Regions from separate parts of the Homo sapiens genome. Here regions 1, 3, 4 and 5 are each linked to region 2. The links are contacts of gene promoters, found by promoter capture Hi-C in blood cells and fetal thymus (Javierre and others, 2016). All regions are on one chromosome and are shown on one strand. Each heading gives the region's core, a stretch centred on a gene start or on the middle of the fragment in contact. The rest is flanking DNA. Distances are from core to core; before and after follow the strand shown. Region 1 overlaps PCBP2 (poly(rC) binding protein 2). Region 2 holds the start of ESPL1 (extra spindle pole bodies like 1, separase). Region 3 overlaps EIF4B (eukaryotic translation initiation factor 4B). Region 4 overlaps SPRYD3 (SPRY domain containing 3). Region 5 overlaps MAP3K12 (mitogen-activated protein kinase kinase kinase 12).

Region 1 (2,982 bases), core at 397-2,896, 200 kb before region 2:
GATTTTGTGAGTGCTCTAGCCAGAGGACTCTTACTGAAGACAAGGACCACTCTTCCCTCTTACCAAACCATCAAGTTAAATGCGGGCAATCTGTGCTCCCCCCCCCACCAACCCCTTGAAAACTTACTGCAGTTTACTTTTTCTGCTACACTCTAAGAAAGTAGAGCTAGCAAAAAAAAAAAAAAACCTTTTGGCCATCTTTACCCATCGCCCATGTAATCCCATATTTAATACACTGCAGCTCTCCCCAACACACACATTACTGTGTTGGCATAAATAAGACAAAAGGTAGAGCAATCTTACCTGACATTGATTAGATATTGAGCCAGGCTAATGCTGGCAGCAGATCCAGTGATGGTAACCTGCCTATCAGTAGATCCTTCCACTGGGTTCGCAATTTTGATCTGCGCCCCAGACATCTGACGGATCTCATTGATTTTGGCGCCTTGACGCCCGATTATGCAGCCAATCAACTTAAGGGAGAAAGAAAAACAAGGCACACCGAATTAGAGTTGCATGGCTAGGTCTAAGAATCCCACCCCCCCACCCCAAATCCTACGACTGTGGCCAGGCTGGAGTGCAGTGGCCTGATCTTGGCTCACTGTGCAACCTCAGCCTCCTGGATTTGAGCAATTCACCTGCCTCAGCAGGACTACAGGCGCATGCCACCATGCCCAGCCAATTTTTGTATTTTTAGTAGAGACGGGGTTTCACCATGTTGGCCAGGATGGTCTCAATCTCTTGACCTTGTGATCCACCCACCTTGGCCTCCCAAAGTGCTGGGATTACAGGTATAAGCCACCGAACCTGGCCCTTTAAAAAAAAAAAAAAAAACCGAGGGTCTCGCTATGTTGCTCAGGCTAGTCTCAAACTCCTTGGTTTAAGCCATTTTCGAATCTCAGCCTCTGTATCTCTGTGCTCCCTGTAACCTGGGATTACAGGTGTATACCGCCATGCCCAATTTCATCCTACACCCTTTACTCATACACTTTTGATCAAAAAACTCAACTCTTGACCCATTTTTCAGTCTGACCACCCATGGTGAGTGACAGCCAGTTCTGAGCCAACTCAGAACTGTCTTTTAGGTCCAAGAGACATAATACTCTTAGGTCCAAGTATTAGCTCTTCATTATTTCTGTCCTCAGAATATTACTTCCAAAGACAAAGCAGAGCCAAAACAAAAATAAATTTAGACAGCTAGAAATAGATAAAGGTAGAAATACATTCTGTTTCTGGCAGCAAATATGCTTAAAGTCATCCTGCCATGATTACCACCCTCCTATACCGACAAGAATTCTGGCCAATTCCTAAGGTGTTTTTGCCTTGGGAAAAGGTGGAAAAAAAAAAAAAAAAACTGGTTAACATTTGCACTAATACTGTAAAAAATATGACCCTGGACAGCACAGATCTGATGTTCATGAACCACTACACTATGGTGGGGGACCGTGGCTCATGCCTGTAGGCTGAGGCAGGCCAATCACTTGCGTTCAGGAGTTTCATGGCGAAACTCTTGTCTTTACAAAAAAAATACAAAAAAAGTTAGCCAGGGATAGTGGCATGCACCTGTGGTCCCAGCTACTCAGGAGGCTGAGATGGGAGGATCTCTTAAGCCTGGAAGTTCAAGGCTGCAGTGAGCCACGATCATGCCTCTCTGCTCCAGCCTGGGCAACAGAGGGAGACCCTTTGTCAAAAAAAAAAGCCACTACACTTTTTTTTTTTTTTTTTTTTTTTTGAGAGACGGAGTCTTGGTCTGTTGCCCAGGCTGGAGTGCAGTGGCACGATCTTGGCTCACTGCAACCTCCGCCTCCCAGGTTCAGGGGATTCTCCTGCCTCAGCCTTCTGAGTAATGGGATTACAGGTGCGGGCCAGCACACCTGGCTAATTTTTGTATTTTTAGTAGAGACAGGGTTTCACCACTATGGTCAGGCTGGTCTCCTGACCTCGTGACCCACTTGCCTCAGCCTCCCACAAGTGCTGGGATTATATGCATGAGCCACTGCACCTGGCTGAAAACCACAACATCTTCTAAAGATAAGGCTTTAGCTTCTACAAAAAAACAAAAGCAGGCTGGACGCAGTGGCTCACACCTGTAATCCCAACGCTTTGGGAGGCTGAAGGGGGGGGATCACGTAAGGTCAGGAGTTCAAGACCAGCCTGACCAACATGGAGAAACCCCATCTCTAATTAAAAAAAATACAAAAATCAGCCGGACATGGTGGCACATGCCTGTAGTCCCATCTACTCGGGAGGCTGGGGCAGGAAAATTGCTTGAACCCAGGAGACGGAGGTCACAGTGAGCCAAGCCTGGGAAACAGAGCAAGATGCCGTCTCAAAAAAAAAAAAAAAAAAAGCAGCAAATGTACAGGAATTTCTTTCCTTTTTTGAAATGGAGTTTCGCTCTTGTTGCCCAGGCTGGAGTGCGATGGCGCGATCTCGGCTCACCACAACCTCCGCCTCCCGGGTTTCAAGCAATTCTCCTACCTTAGCCTCCCAAATAGCTGGGATTACAGAGATGCAACACCATGCCAGGCTTTTTGCTTTTTTTGTATTTTTAGTAGAGATGGGTTCCTCCATGGTAGTCAGGCTGGTCTCGAACTTCCAAGCTCAGGTGATCCACCCGCCTCGGCCTCCCAAAGTGCTGGGATTACAGGAGTGAGCCACCGTGCCCAGCCAGGAATTTCTATTTTCAGCAAAAAGTTACTGCTGTCTCGTCATACCTCACACAATAATAGTCTATTTTCTCTTATCATATTTGTCATCACAATTCTGTATATTATAATCAACTTATTTTTGTGTCTAAAAATTCCCATTTTCCATTCCTGGGGTATGAAAAACAAAAACAAAAATAAAGATAAAATAATAAAATTCCCAGTTTCTTTCCCTAGGGCTTAAAAGTAGCAGGACATGTAGGCCAAGTGCGGTGACTCAGACCTGTAATCCCAGCACTTTGGGAGGCCAAGGTGAGTGGATCACCTGAGCTCG
Region 2 (3,101 bases), core at 61-2,560:
GTCATCTAGGAAATCAGCATCTGCTTCATTTAGACCATGGCCACTGGCATCAAATAGCTGATGGGCAGCTACCGCTCGACAGGCTGTTGGAGAAGCAAAGTGAGGAACCTCACAAGGGGTACTTTCATCCTCCAAGAGTACTAGGAAGCTCAAGGCCTTCAGCCGAGCTGCAAATGCAGCTCGCCGTTCCAACAGGGCTTCTGCCCCCTTCCAAAGCAGAGAAAAGCTGCCCCGAGCCACGGCCTCATAGTCCTGGGGAGCAGCCTCGCGAGAGCACTGCACCAAGCAGGCATGGAGGGGCTGAGCAAGGCGGAGTGTGGCCTCTGGGCTTCCTTGTGCAGCAGCATTCCGCAGTAAGACAAAGAGAATTCGTTCCAGGTAGAGGGGAGGACGCTGTGGGGTAGACACTAAGTAGCCATCACAGGCCAGCTCTGCCAGCTCCAGCAGGCTCCCCAGATGCCTAGGGCAAGCTAGCTTAGCAGTCAGCTGCTGGTTGCAAGCCCTCAGGATGGCATCACAAGCTTGTCTCCTCTCAGCATCAGATCGGCTGCTGGGAAAACCAGCTGGAGGGTTGGACAGGAACTCCTAGGAGTAGAGAAAGATATGAATGGGGCTAGCAAAGGCAGGAAAGAGGTAGAGAAAGTAACTAGAAATAGGGTTACTCAGAGAGGGTCGCCTACTTATCCATCTCTTCAAAAGGCAAACACAAAACAGCTCAGTTTGGAAAGCCAGGTGTATCCCGAGCCAGGCAGCACCCCCACCTTCAAGGCGGGCAGCAACTCTTCAGCCTCCTTCTGGCTGCTTAGCAGAGTCCCAAAGTTGACTCTTTTGAAGCTCCTCATGACACCGGAGAGCTAGGGAAAAGGAGACCAATTAGAGAAGATTGTTAATGAAGCTAACTGGAGGAAGGGAAGAGGGCTGAAGGTCGTGGAAGGAGGCAAAGAATCACATCAGAAATTTCATCGGGGAGAAAACCCACGCCAGGACGCCGTGCTCCCGTTATAAAAGGACGATTCCGCTCTTCCTTCCTCCGGGCAGATCCCCGACCGCACTACCACACCACTCGCCGCGCTACCCCAGAGGCCTCGGCCCAGCCCTTCAGCGGCCCGGGGCAGTCCCAAGGCCTCCCGACACTCCCTCCAGGAGCCACCCACGCCTCTCCTCGCGTCAGCGCTGGGGATCCCCTTCACTTCAGCACGTACCCACGCTCACGAGTCCCTTCCGGCCTTACCGCCCCAGAGCTCGCCCTCTTTCCTAGGTACAGGACTTAACCGCCTGACCAGTACTCCGCGAGGATCCAAAATGTAACCTTCGTTTTCCGCGCCAGACCCTCCTTTCAAATATCCGCGGCTGCCAATCAGCGGGCGCGGCGCAACGCCGGGCGCGCGGCACGCTGGGAGTTGTAGTTTACCCGCCGCGCTGCGCGCTCCCGCGGCGCCCCGGAGGGTCTTGCTGCTCTGCGCGTTAGGGCCTCTTGGGGGTGCGGGTTTCCCCCTTTTTTCCAGTCAGAGCTCAGTTTCTCAGCTACCTGTCGCTTAGTCGCTATCGGTAATGCCACCCCTTTTCCTCCTTTATCTTCAGAGCTCAGGCAAGAGTTTAAGTTTCAAGAGAAGAGAAATAACAAAAAGAACTTAGGAACTCACGCGGTTTGGGTTACTAGAAAAAAAGGGCTTAGACTTCTACGAATTTTTTTTTTGATAGGGTCTTGCTCTGACACACAGGCTGGAGTGCAGTGGCGTGATCACAGCTCACTGCAGCTTCAAACTCCCGGGCTTAAGTGATCCTCCCACCTCAGCCTCCCAAAGTGCTGACTACGGGCGTGCACCGCCACGCCCAACTTCCTACGAAATTATTTTAAAGATGGTTTTCTAGGGGAACTACAATGAGTACCCGTAGCGACCTCCAGCTCTCTCTCTGCCTTCCAGCCTTACTCCTTCTATTGGTTGTATGAGAAAGACAAGATCTGGTGCTCTTCGATGGGGGAGAGAGGGTAGTGGGGTGGGGTGGGAGTTGTGAGTAGCAGGAAGAACTATGGAAATTCATTCCCTGGGATATTTCACAGTCTTTAATGGCTTATGTTTTTAAGTACTAACCACTTCCCCAAACACAGATTCAGCTGTCTCTTTCCTTCCTCCACCAAAGAATTCAGCTCAAAAGTGGTTATCAGCTTGTCGCTGATGAACTCTACTGGATAACTCATCCTTCTCCATCATCATAGAGCTCTTTTATGAGTTGAGAATCTAGCAGGGAAGATTATTTTTGTAAAAAGAAAGAAAAGAAGGCCGGGCGCGGTGGCTCACGCCTATAATCCCAGCACTTTAGGAGGCCGAGGTGGGTGGATCACTTGAGAACCAGCCTGACCAACATGGTGAAACCCCATCTCTACTAAAAATACAAAAATTAGCTGCTGTGGCATCGGGGGCCTGTAGTCCCAGCTACTTGGGAGGATCGCTTGAACCCGGGAAGCGGAGGTTGCAGTGAGCTGAGATCCCGCCACTGTACTGCAGTCTGGGTGACAGAGCAAGACTCTGTCTCAAAAAAGAAAACCAAAAAAAAGGCCGGGCGCGGTGGCTCACGCCTGTAATCCCAGCACTTTGAGAGACCGAGGCGGGCGGATCACGAGGTCAGGAGATCGAGACAATCCTGGCCAACATGGTGAAACCCCGTCTCTACTAAAAATACAAAAAATTAGCCGGGCGTGGTTGCAGGCTCCTGTAGTCCCAGCTACTCGGGAGGCTGCGCTAGGAGAACGGCGTGAACCCGGGAAGCGGAGCTTGCAGTGAGCCAAGATCGCGCCACTGCACTCCAGCCTGGGCTACAGAGCGAGACGACTCTGTCTCAAAAAAAAAAAAACCAAAAAACAAACAAACAAACAAAAAAAACCCAAAAGAAAATTATTCATCACAGTACTCAATTCCTCTTGCTTACACCTTAGCTATCAGTGTTCATTTACCTATTGTTTAGCAAGCATTCTAGGACTTTTTCCCAACGTATTTTATTATACCTACTTTTTTCTTCTTTTTTTAAGATAGAAACGAGGTCTCACTATGATGCCCAGGTTGGTCTTGAACTCCTGAGCTCAAGTGATCCTCCGGCCTTAG
Region 3 (3,224 bases), core at 366-2,865, 250 kb after region 2:
CACTAGGGGAAGGAAGATAAAGGAAAACACTGTAATCTAGCTAACACTCCAATTTGTGGGCTAAAGAGTCCTTTAAAAGACTTAAAAGTTAAACAAATTTAAGCTGGCCTTGAATATTAGGTCAATTATACTATTTTTACAAAGCTTAATTTCACAGAATAGAATTAACTTTTTAACTATCCAAGGTAATTTGTCAAGTGTAGTAAATTAAAAATAATTCTCACATAACTAGCTGAATAAAAGGCATATTTGGTGCCACAACAATTATTTATCAAAATTTATAGAAGCCAGGTGCAGTGGCATGTACCTACAGTCTCAGCTATTTGGGAGGCTGAGGCTGGAGGATCACTTAAGCCCAGGAGTTCAAATCCAGCCTGGGCAATATAGCGAGACACTGTCTCTTAAAAACAAAAACACCCAACACATTTATAGAGCCTCTACTACTACTATGTACCAGCAAAATTGCATAAAGCATGCTTTGTCTACAATCTTAGGTTCTTTCACTCAGTATTACCTTCAGATAAATCAGTTCTTCCAGAGATACCCTCTGACTTCCCTTTCCCACATCATTATTTATATACTTTGAACCCAATTAATTCTATTGCTGATTTTTCCTCATTTCATAGTAGAATCTACAGTTGAAGGATAACAATGATTTTTAGTTAAAAATACCCAAAACTATATTAAACACCACTATAATGAAATCTCTAGTAACAAAGTAACTCTTAACTATGGACCACAACAATATATTAATAGTTAATCTAGTAAACATCAAATAGTTAACAATTGCATGGTATTCTTTTTCTTATCCAGACTGAGTAAAGTTAGAGACCAGTAATGTTAATAAAAATCTAAAAATAATCCAGTAAGAGTAACTCTGGAACAAGATTAGACCTTCATATGCATTTAACTAAGTACATTAATTTTTATCTCTATTTCACACTGACTACAGGTTATCATGATGGTAATCAATTATGAGGCAGCAAAACTATTTCTAAGAGGTGTTGATTTCAATCATGTCATATGGCAAAATAGGACTACAGAAATATGGCACAAATGGCACTAGAAATTGCCTTATCAATAAACAATAAGGTGTTTTTGGAGTTAAAGGAGGAAAAAAGTCTTTTTTCTTCTGAGATATAAGCCCCTCAAGTCCTGGGACAGGAAAACCTTTGTGGGCAGTGTTGACAAGCAGAAGGACTAGATATTTATTGTCACTCTCCTGTAAAATATTCCTTTGTAGGAAATGTTTCCAAATCCTCTTAAATGAACAAATATACCATTACAACACTTCCCTGAAAATGAGATATGCCTTTAATACTAAACAAACTTGATTTTTCTATTTGCCTTTATCAGGCCAGATTACTTTGAAAAAGCAATGCCATAAGAGTTGAGGCAACACTGTGGGTAAATCAGTGTAAGACTTAATTAGAGACCTGGTGTGTGGTGGGTTTCTTCCACAACTTTCCACCTAAGTACCTATCTAAATTATTGGGGCCTACTGAATTTGCTGAAGTGTGACTTGCTAGATGTTCGATGTTAAGTGATACACTGTTAAATAATGCAGGCCTTTATTTGTAGATATGGGAATCTTTGAAGTGAGCCTCTCAACCTAAAAAATACCAGTTTGATCAATAAACATGAGATTTGTGAACTTACACCCCTCATATCCCCACTCTTATTTTCTTTACCTCTTCATTGAGACTCAGGGCACTGAGCAGGGAATCCAGGTCCTCAAATTCAGCATAACCAAAACCTTTCAACCTCTCTGGATTGCTGGGTTCACGTGGTAAACGCACTGCACTGATCTGAAGGAATAAGAATCAACAACAAAGTTTCCCAGCATTCTTCTTCATTTGTCATTTTTTGAGAGGACTACAAAAGCATTACTGTATGTGCATGAATTTTTCTGAATACACAAGAACATGGTTGTCTCAGGAGGAAAACTGATGCAGAGGGATAGTAGAAACTTTACTAAATGCCCTATTATACCTTCTGAATTTTGAACTGTATGAATTTAACTCTAAAAAAAAAAAAAAAAAGATTAATTCAGGCCAGGTGCAGTGGCTCATGCCTGTAGTCCCAGCACTTTGGGAGGCCGAAGCAGGTGGATCCTCTGAGGTCAGGAGTTCAAGACCAGCCTGACCAACATAGTGCAACCCTATCTCTACTAAATACAAAAAATTAGCTGGGCATGTAATCCACTGTACTCCAGCCTGGATGACAGAATGAGACTCTGTCTCAAAAAAAAAAAAAAAAAAAAAAAAGAAAAAAAAAAAATATATATATATATAATTTTGATTTTATTTTTTTTCTTTGAGATGGTGTTTCACTCTTGTTGCCCAGGCTGGAGTGCAATGGCGCAATCTCGGCTCACCACAACCTCCGTCTTCCAGGTTCAAGCAATTCTCCTACCTCAGCCTCCCAAGTAGCTGGGATTACAGACGTGTACCACCACGCCCAGCTAATTTTTGTATTCTTAGTAGAGACAGGGTCTCACCACGTTAGCCAGGCTGGACTCGAATTCCTGACCTCAAATGATCCACCCGCCTCAGACTCCCAGAGTGCTGGGATTACAGGCGTGAGCCACCATTCCCGGCCTTAAATTATATTTCTAGTTGTTTTTTCAACAGCAACTGCCCATTCCACAATTAGTCTTTTTTAGACATTATCCTCAATATCTAGTTAATTATTACAACTTTTACACTTACATTTAATCCTCGAAAGAATTCCTTAATTGACTCTTCTGTAACATCATAGGGTAGGTTTCCTAGAAAAGCAGTGTAGGGTGGCGATTTGGGAAGACGGCTCCGGTCGATATTGGGTTCCCGAGCAGCCCGTGGAGCAGTGGGAAGGATGGAACGGTCAATTGGAGGCGCCCTATACACATCGTCATCGTTACTGTGCCAAGTGGTCGAAACTAGGATAGAGGAATGAATGTAAGAAATTAGAAGAAACTTCTCTCACTACTGTCATAGAACAAGAGGACCCATGTTAATTGCCAAATATTAAACATGCTATACAAGAAAACCAGACCAAAAAAAGTGGGGGTTCAGTAATAAGGGCACTTTACGAAGAGAAGCTTCTGAGATTAATTATGACACCTTAATCTTTATGTAAGCAAAGAAATATTATTCCATAAATACAACTCTTTATGGAATATTACTGTGTGCCAGCTACTTTATATTCATTATATCCCATCTTATCTTTTTAACAGTCCTGTG
Region 4 (3,036 bases), core at 262-2,761, 190 kb after region 2:
TAGGTGCCCTGGAAACCTGTCACCCTGTCCCTTCTGCTCTCCTACCCCTTAGCTAGGTAGACTTTGACCCATATCCCAGACTTGACTCATGTCCCCTAACCCAAACCCACCATATAGGGACGTGAGTCCTATCTTTCTCCAAAGCTTTGGAGTAATTTTCTAAGTGAAATAGGCACCCACTCTCACCAATTGCCCCCTCTGAGTATCTTATCTTTTTTCCTGATTCCCATGTCCTTTTTCTTTTTGAGCCTCAGCGCCCTTTAATCTCTAAGTCCCCTTCCCCCACCCCCAGCAATTCATCCCATTTCCCAGCCCTGCTGACTGTGCCCTGCTTTCTTCTCTCCAGGTGTCTATTGTGGACAGTGGAGTCCGGGGCACCATTGCTGTGGGGCTGGTCCCTCAGTACTACAGCTTGGATCACCAGCCTGGCTGGTTGCCTGACTCTGTAGCCTACCATGCTGATGATGGCAAGTGAGTTGGCTCCTGTGCAACCCGGCCCTTTTCCTATGAATTTGGGAATCTTAGATCTGAAGAACTACCTTGGGCTGGCTTTTCCCATTGGGTGTTTCATAGACTTTTCTGGTCAGGACAGGGAAGTGGCCTGGCAGCACCCTTGAAGGCTTACAGACTAGAGGAGGGTGATGCTCACGCCAGGACGTAAGTGGGTACCATCACAGAATGACCAGGAGCAGCAAGATGAGGATGAGGCCTCTGCTGTCAGTGCTGGGGAGAAGTTGGGAGGCCAGGCTCGGGTCCTGTGTCTGTACTACTCTGTCTGTAGGCTGTACAATGGCCGAGCCAAGGGCCGCCAGTTTGGGTCAAAGTGCAACTCCGGGGACCGGATTGGCTGTGGCATTGAGCCTGTGTCCTTTGATGTGCAGACCGCCCAGATCTTCTTCACCAAAAATGGGAAGCGGGTGAGTGGGAAATAGTGGTGGGATTTACGTGGCTGAAATCTGCCCAAGGATTTGTGGGGAGTGATTAGGAAGAGTCTGCTGGCTGGGGCTTGCCCAGGGACCCTTGCACTGAGTTCCCATCTCCTCCAGTCCAGCCTCAGATTCTCCTGAAGTCTCTTGCGTGTAGGAGAAGATACTTCCCATGGCCAGAGGAAGCTGGGACATTGCCCAGATGACAGGCAGAGAGAGGCAAGTTAGTGGAGCAGAGGATGAGCAGGAATTGTGGGGAACAGAATTGGGTGATTTGGGGGAAGGTTTTGAGCAGATAAAAGAGAGGGGAAGATTATGGCCTGGCCATGTAAGCTGGAGGTCCTCTTTGGGTTTTGACTTGAGCACTTTTGGGGATATGTCCTTTCTGTGTCCTGTTTTCCTTGTTTCACGTCTCTTTCACTATCCTGTTCGTAGAGAGACTAGGCGTGGTGAGGAGATGGGACAGGAGCCAATAGTAGAGAGAGACACACAGCTCTCTCCCTTCTCTCCAACTCCATCTCCCACATTGGGAAATTGGTTTCTCAGGCCTTGGCCAAGGGGTCCTGCTGCCTTAGCATCTGCGCCTCGGCACTCTCCTGTCCAGCACACGTACTGAAAGTATTTGGCAGCAAGTCAGGAGACTTGTGTTTGTCTTCTAGCTCTGTACATACCTTGCTTAGCCAGGAGTACTTAGCACATTTGGAAACTTTTCTGCACCTCTGGGTTGCTTTTTTTTTTTTAATCTGTCAGTGTGTGTGATAATTATTGGTTGCATCATCTTTTTTTTTTTTTTTTTGAAATGGAGTCTCGCTCTGTCCCCCAGGCTGGAGTGCAGTGGCACCATCTCGGCTCACTGCAAGCTCCGCCTCCCGGGTTCACGCCATTCTCCTGCCTCAGCCTCCCGAGTAGCTGGGACTACAGGCGCCCGCCACCACGCCCGGCTAATTTTTTGTATTTTTAGTAGAGACGGGGTTTCACCGTGTTAGCCAGGATGGTTTCAATCTCCTGACCTTGTGATCCGCCCACCTCGGCCTCCCAAAGTGCTGGGATTACAGGCGTGAGCCACCACGCCCGGCTGGTTGCATCATCTTAAAAGTACCCTTGTGAGAATTAGGTGAGCTATGGAAAAGCAGGCCGGGTGGCAGCTCCGTCTTTCCCCCCACTGCAGGTGGGCTCTACCATCATGCCCATGTCCCCAGATGGACTGTTCCCAGCAGTGGGCATGCACTCCCTGGGTGAGGAGGTGCGGCTGCACCTCAACGCTGAGCTGGGCCGTGAGGACGACAGCGTCATGATGGTGGACAGTTACGAGGATGAATGGGGCCGGCTACATGATGTCAGAGTCTGTGGGACTGTAAGTAGCGGGTGGGAGGGTGGGAGGGGCTGGGTCGGAGGAGGCTGGGCAGAACACCTGTGGGCACATGGTCATGTCTGAATTGCTGGGAATGGGGAGTCGGGACAGTGTCCGTGTGGGGTTTGGCAAGATAGCCTAGGCTCTTGACATGAGTCCTTGAGTCCAGATCTGTGTTTTCTTTAGCACATGTTCTCTTTTCTTCACTTCCTCCTCTTCAGGGAACTCAGGTTCGCAGTTTGACCCTGGGAACAAGTAGTTCTGCTTTGCCTTTTTTGGTTCCTTCAGCTTCTGGTGTCTTCTACAGCCCTGCACAACTGCCTTTGAGGGGCTGGGGGTTGATCTGGAGGCAAAATGCCTGGCCCAGGCTTTTCATTCAAAGTGTTGTGGGGCAGGTGTGGTCAGAAGTCCACACATGTGGTGGAAGGTTCTTAGCCATCTTTTTTGAGGAAGTGTCAATGTCAGTTTCTATTGTCTTATCCCTGCATTTGATAGAGGATTAGAATGGAGGCAGATAAAGATTCAGTGAGCATCCTTACACCTCCAAACTTGCTTCATTTATCTTTTCCTCATACCTGCTTTAGTATGGATTTTAAGCTTCGTTGGGAAGCGTGTGGAGCTTGAGAAAGGGGAATTCTTCCTCCCCGGATTTTAAGTTTTGTTGGAAAATTCATGAACCTTGAGAAAGGAAAATTCTTCCTGTCTGCCTCAATACACTGTGCTGCATTGGGAGTGAATGGACGCCAAGTCCGGGATCTG
Region 5 (2,954 bases), core at 429-2,928, 230 kb before region 2:
TCTCCATCTCCTGACCTCATGATCCGCCCGCCTGGGCCTCCCAAAGTGCTGGGACTACAGACGTGAGCCACTGTGCTCGGCCTTTTTTTAATTTAGTCTGGTGTGGTGGTGAGTGCCTGTAGTCCCAGCTACTCAGGAGGCTGAAGGGGGAGGATCACTTGAGCCCAGGAGGTTGAGGCTGCAGGCAGTGAGCCGTGATCATCCCACTGCACTCCAGCCTGGGCAACAAAGCGAGACCCTGTTTCAAAAACAATACGAGCTGCAGCCAAGGGGACAGGAGGCATGGCCACGATTGATCAGAGACCTTTATCCTCTCAGGGTTTCAAAGCTTGCAGAGGTGGAATTAGGACTCCAAAGTCTTGGGTCTCCTTTCCCTTTGAAGACTCCCCTTCCTACCCCCACTCACGAGAGAAAGGGAATCATTCTCCTTTTCCTGAGTAAAAAAATGAGGTCTCAGACAGTGGAGAGCACTCAGTGTGAGAGCCCAAGATTTAGGCAGATGACCTGGCCTCTGAACTGAGCCCCTAAGACCACCAAACAGCTTAGCATTGACATTCTGCTGTTATACAAGAAGGAGCTAGAGAGAATTCAGAGAGTTTACCTGCCACAGGCTTCCAAAATCTCAGGCCAGAGAACCTAGAAGGTGGGATAGATGGGGGGTGACTTCCTACCCCACTCTACCCTGTAGCCTCCTTATGGAGTCACTTTGGGGCCACCAGCAAAGCACTGAATTAGGGCCTGTTGGGTGTCCAAAGAGCCTCCTCCCCTGGCACATGTATGGCTTAGAGATCATTCTGTCCCCTCACCCAATGTGAGGCAGAAGCACCATCAACACTTGGTAGATATGGTTGACAGTGAGTGACAGAGAGACCCACCCTCCTGTCACATTGCTGCCCTTCCCCCATGCTCTGCATAATTGATAACGGAGAGACAGCTACCCTCCCCCAGGGTGACTGAACGTCTGGGCCAGGGGCTCCTAGCCATCCTAGACGCCCCTCCAAAGCTCTGGCGCCAAGGCCCAGCCAGGGGGCAGTGGGACACAGCTGGCAGGTCAGAAATAAAGGAAACAAAAAGGGGTATGTGTGTGTGTGTTGGGAGAGAGGAATCTCCACTTTACTATAGCTCCCAGGGGCAGCAGCTTTCCCTCACTCCAGGTCAATGTGGAAGAGCCGTCAACTAGCCTGAGATCTTTCCCTTGGTCCCATCTCCTACTTCTTCAGCTATCCCCACTACCGTAAAAGACAAACAGGTGAAATGGCTTCTCTCCTTCTCTCCCCAGCTGCTGGCCCTGGATACCAGAAGGGCCTCTGGGGAAGCCTGGTGAACTGGAGGGAGGCTCGGCTGGCTGCAAGTGTCTCTGAGCATGTCACCCTTTCTATGCCTAAACCACCTAGTCGTCAAACAACCAGATGACGGCTGAAAAATTCCTTTAAAAAGCCAGGTGCTGTGCCTACTCAAAGCTCGGCTTCTAGACAGAAAAGGAGATGGGTGTTCTCCGTGTTTCTCACTCCCCTTTCATCTCCATTTTCTCAGGGTCCTCTGCTTTTCCAAACAGCTTTTCAAGCCATCCTTCTCGGGGTTGACTCCGCTTGACGCTGCTCCGGTGTCTGTATATGTCTCAGCTCCTTCCTCCTTCCTAGCTGTACCTTTCGCCTTTTCTGTGCCCTGTCTCCCTTTCTCTCATTTCCTGCTTTCCTTCCCTGTGGTACTGCACCCCCAATGCCAACCCCACAAGTCCCCTCCTGCCAACACCAGACGCCTCAGCCGAAGATCTCTCTGCATGCGGGGGCAGGGGAAGGAAGGGAACACAGATGGGGCAGACCGCTGGGTGGGGGTCCGCACCTAAGATCCTCGCAGCCATCCCGGCAACCAGCCACCTGGGCCGGCCCAGGTCAGGGGCGGGGCCCAGGCACAGCCCCGCCCCCACGTCGCGCTCACGTGATCCGGGGCTAATCTTGTCCTGGTGACTTCACGCGCCGCCTCAGGCCCAGTCGTCATGGTTACGCCGCAGCGCCCAGCGCTTCCCCCAGCCGGCCGTGTCCCTTCCCTTTCCCCACCCGGACCACCCCCTTCCGCCGCCGCGGCCCCCGCCCCAGCCACGCGCCACGTGACGGCCGGGAAGGAGGTCGGGAAGGGGGAGGGGGCGCTGTGGCCGTAACCCCTTCCTCCCCACTTTCAGCGGTCCTGACTTGGGCTTCGTCCTTCCATTGCTGGTGACCAAGCTGTCCAGGGCACGGCCCCGGCTCCTCCCCGAGGGCTCCAATCCCGCCATCCCTCCCTCCTGGCCTGCCAGGCGAGAGCGTCCCAGAGTCTTGGGCCTTGTTTCTGGGTGGTCCAGAAGCGAAGCCCGGGGTTGCGGCGGAGTGGGAGGTGGTGGGGGCGGGGAGGGAGGTTGGGGGGCAGGCAAAATCCCTTGGGTCCTCCAGACGAAATTCTCCCATATGTTGGCACTTTGCTTGGTCTGTGTTTGTCTGTAATTTGCATTGCAACCTACACCTTACCTCTTGAAGCCACAAATAACGCGTGGGATATGTTGGGGATTTGGAAGCTGAACTTTAGTGTGATTTGTGCTTTCTGGGCCTCAGTTCTCTCAAGAATATAATGGGACCAGTAGTACCTCCTTCACCTGGCTCTTCTGAGGATTCAGGGAGCTAGTTTTGTGTGTGTGTTTGCGCGCGCGCGCGCGCGCAGAGAGAGTGTGCGGGGCTTAAGGCGATCCTCCGGGGTGAGTAGAGCAGTGGTTCCACCTTACCGAGCACCTTCTGCGTGCCAGGTGCTGTTGCAAGCCATGGTTCCCTTGTGATGCGAAGTCATCTCTCTAAAGGCTGTCCAGGCTCTCAAAGGAGCCAGACGCCCGACTACATTGTCCGTCCAGTATAATGGGAACCATGATAGAGGACGCATAGTGGGGCTGTGTCAGCCCAGAAGGCGCATTAACCTAGAGCGGATCAGGA

What was found. Contacts are between HindIII fragments. The CHiCAGO score rates a contact against its expected background, and 5 or more counts as called.
Region 1: a fragment that was not itself captured here is called in contact with the fragment with the promoter of ESPL1 in region 2 in 1 of 17 cell types (erythroblasts); the score reaches 6.8 in erythroblasts.
Region 3: a fragment that was not itself captured here is called in contact with the fragment with the promoter of ESPL1 in region 2 in 1 of 17 cell types (erythroblasts); the score reaches 6.3 in erythroblasts.
Region 4: a contact is called between a fragment that was not itself captured here and the fragment with the promoter of ESPL1 in region 2, in 2 of 17 cell types (total CD8 T cells and endothelial precursors). The highest score is 5.7, in total CD8 T cells.
Region 5: a fragment that was not itself captured here is called in contact with the fragment with the promoter of ESPL1 in region 2 in 2 of 17 cell types (naive B cells and erythroblasts); the score reaches 5.7 in naive B cells.

The regions. Positions count from the first base shown.
Region 1 is chr12:53,469,129-53,472,110 of GRCh38, reverse strand. PCBP2 (poly(rC) binding protein 2) reads right to left here. Exons shown (of 15, transcript NM_031989.5): 14 at 304-473. Among named protein-coding and RNA genes, the nearest start is that of PCBP2-OT1, 6.2 kb to the right of the region's middle. The HindIII fragment of the contact is 4,794 bases long and covers 1-2,982 here.
Region 2 is chr12:53,266,508-53,269,608 of GRCh38, reverse strand. ESPL1 (extra spindle pole bodies like 1, separase) reads right to left here and starts at 1,310. Exons shown (of 31, transcript NM_012291.5): 1 at 1,232-1,310; 2 at 762-854; 3 at 1-585. The coding sequence starts at 842. RefSeq lists enhancers at 864-943, 1,004-1,373. The HindIII fragment of the contact is 5,649 bases long and covers 524-3,101 here.
Region 3 is chr12:53,018,494-53,021,717 of GRCh38, reverse strand. It overlaps EIF4B (eukaryotic translation initiation factor 4B), which reads right to left. Exons shown (of 15, transcript NM_001417.7): 3 at 2,712-2,920; 4 at 1,692-1,808. Among named protein-coding and RNA genes, the nearest start is that of EIF4B, 14 kb to the right of the region's middle. The HindIII fragment of the contact is 2,938 bases long and covers 147-3,084 here.
Region 4 is chr12:53,072,530-53,075,565 of GRCh38, reverse strand. It overlaps SPRYD3 (SPRY domain containing 3), which reads left to right. Exons shown (of 11, transcript NM_032840.3): 4 at 347-471; 5 at 782-917; 6 at 2,095-2,280. Among named protein-coding and RNA genes, the nearest start is that of SPRYD3, 5.3 kb to the left of the region's middle. RefSeq lists enhancers at 2,683-3,036, 3,007-3,036. The HindIII fragment of the contact is 2,730 bases long and covers 147-2,876 here.
Region 5 is chr12:53,492,186-53,495,139 of GRCh38, reverse strand. All of the region lies in intron 1 of MAP3K12 (mitogen-activated protein kinase kinase kinase 12), which reads left to right. Among named protein-coding and RNA genes, the nearest start is that of MAP3K12, 5.8 kb to the left of the region's middle. RefSeq lists a silencer at 2,013-2,262. The HindIII fragment of the contact is 2,695 bases long and covers 331-2,954 here.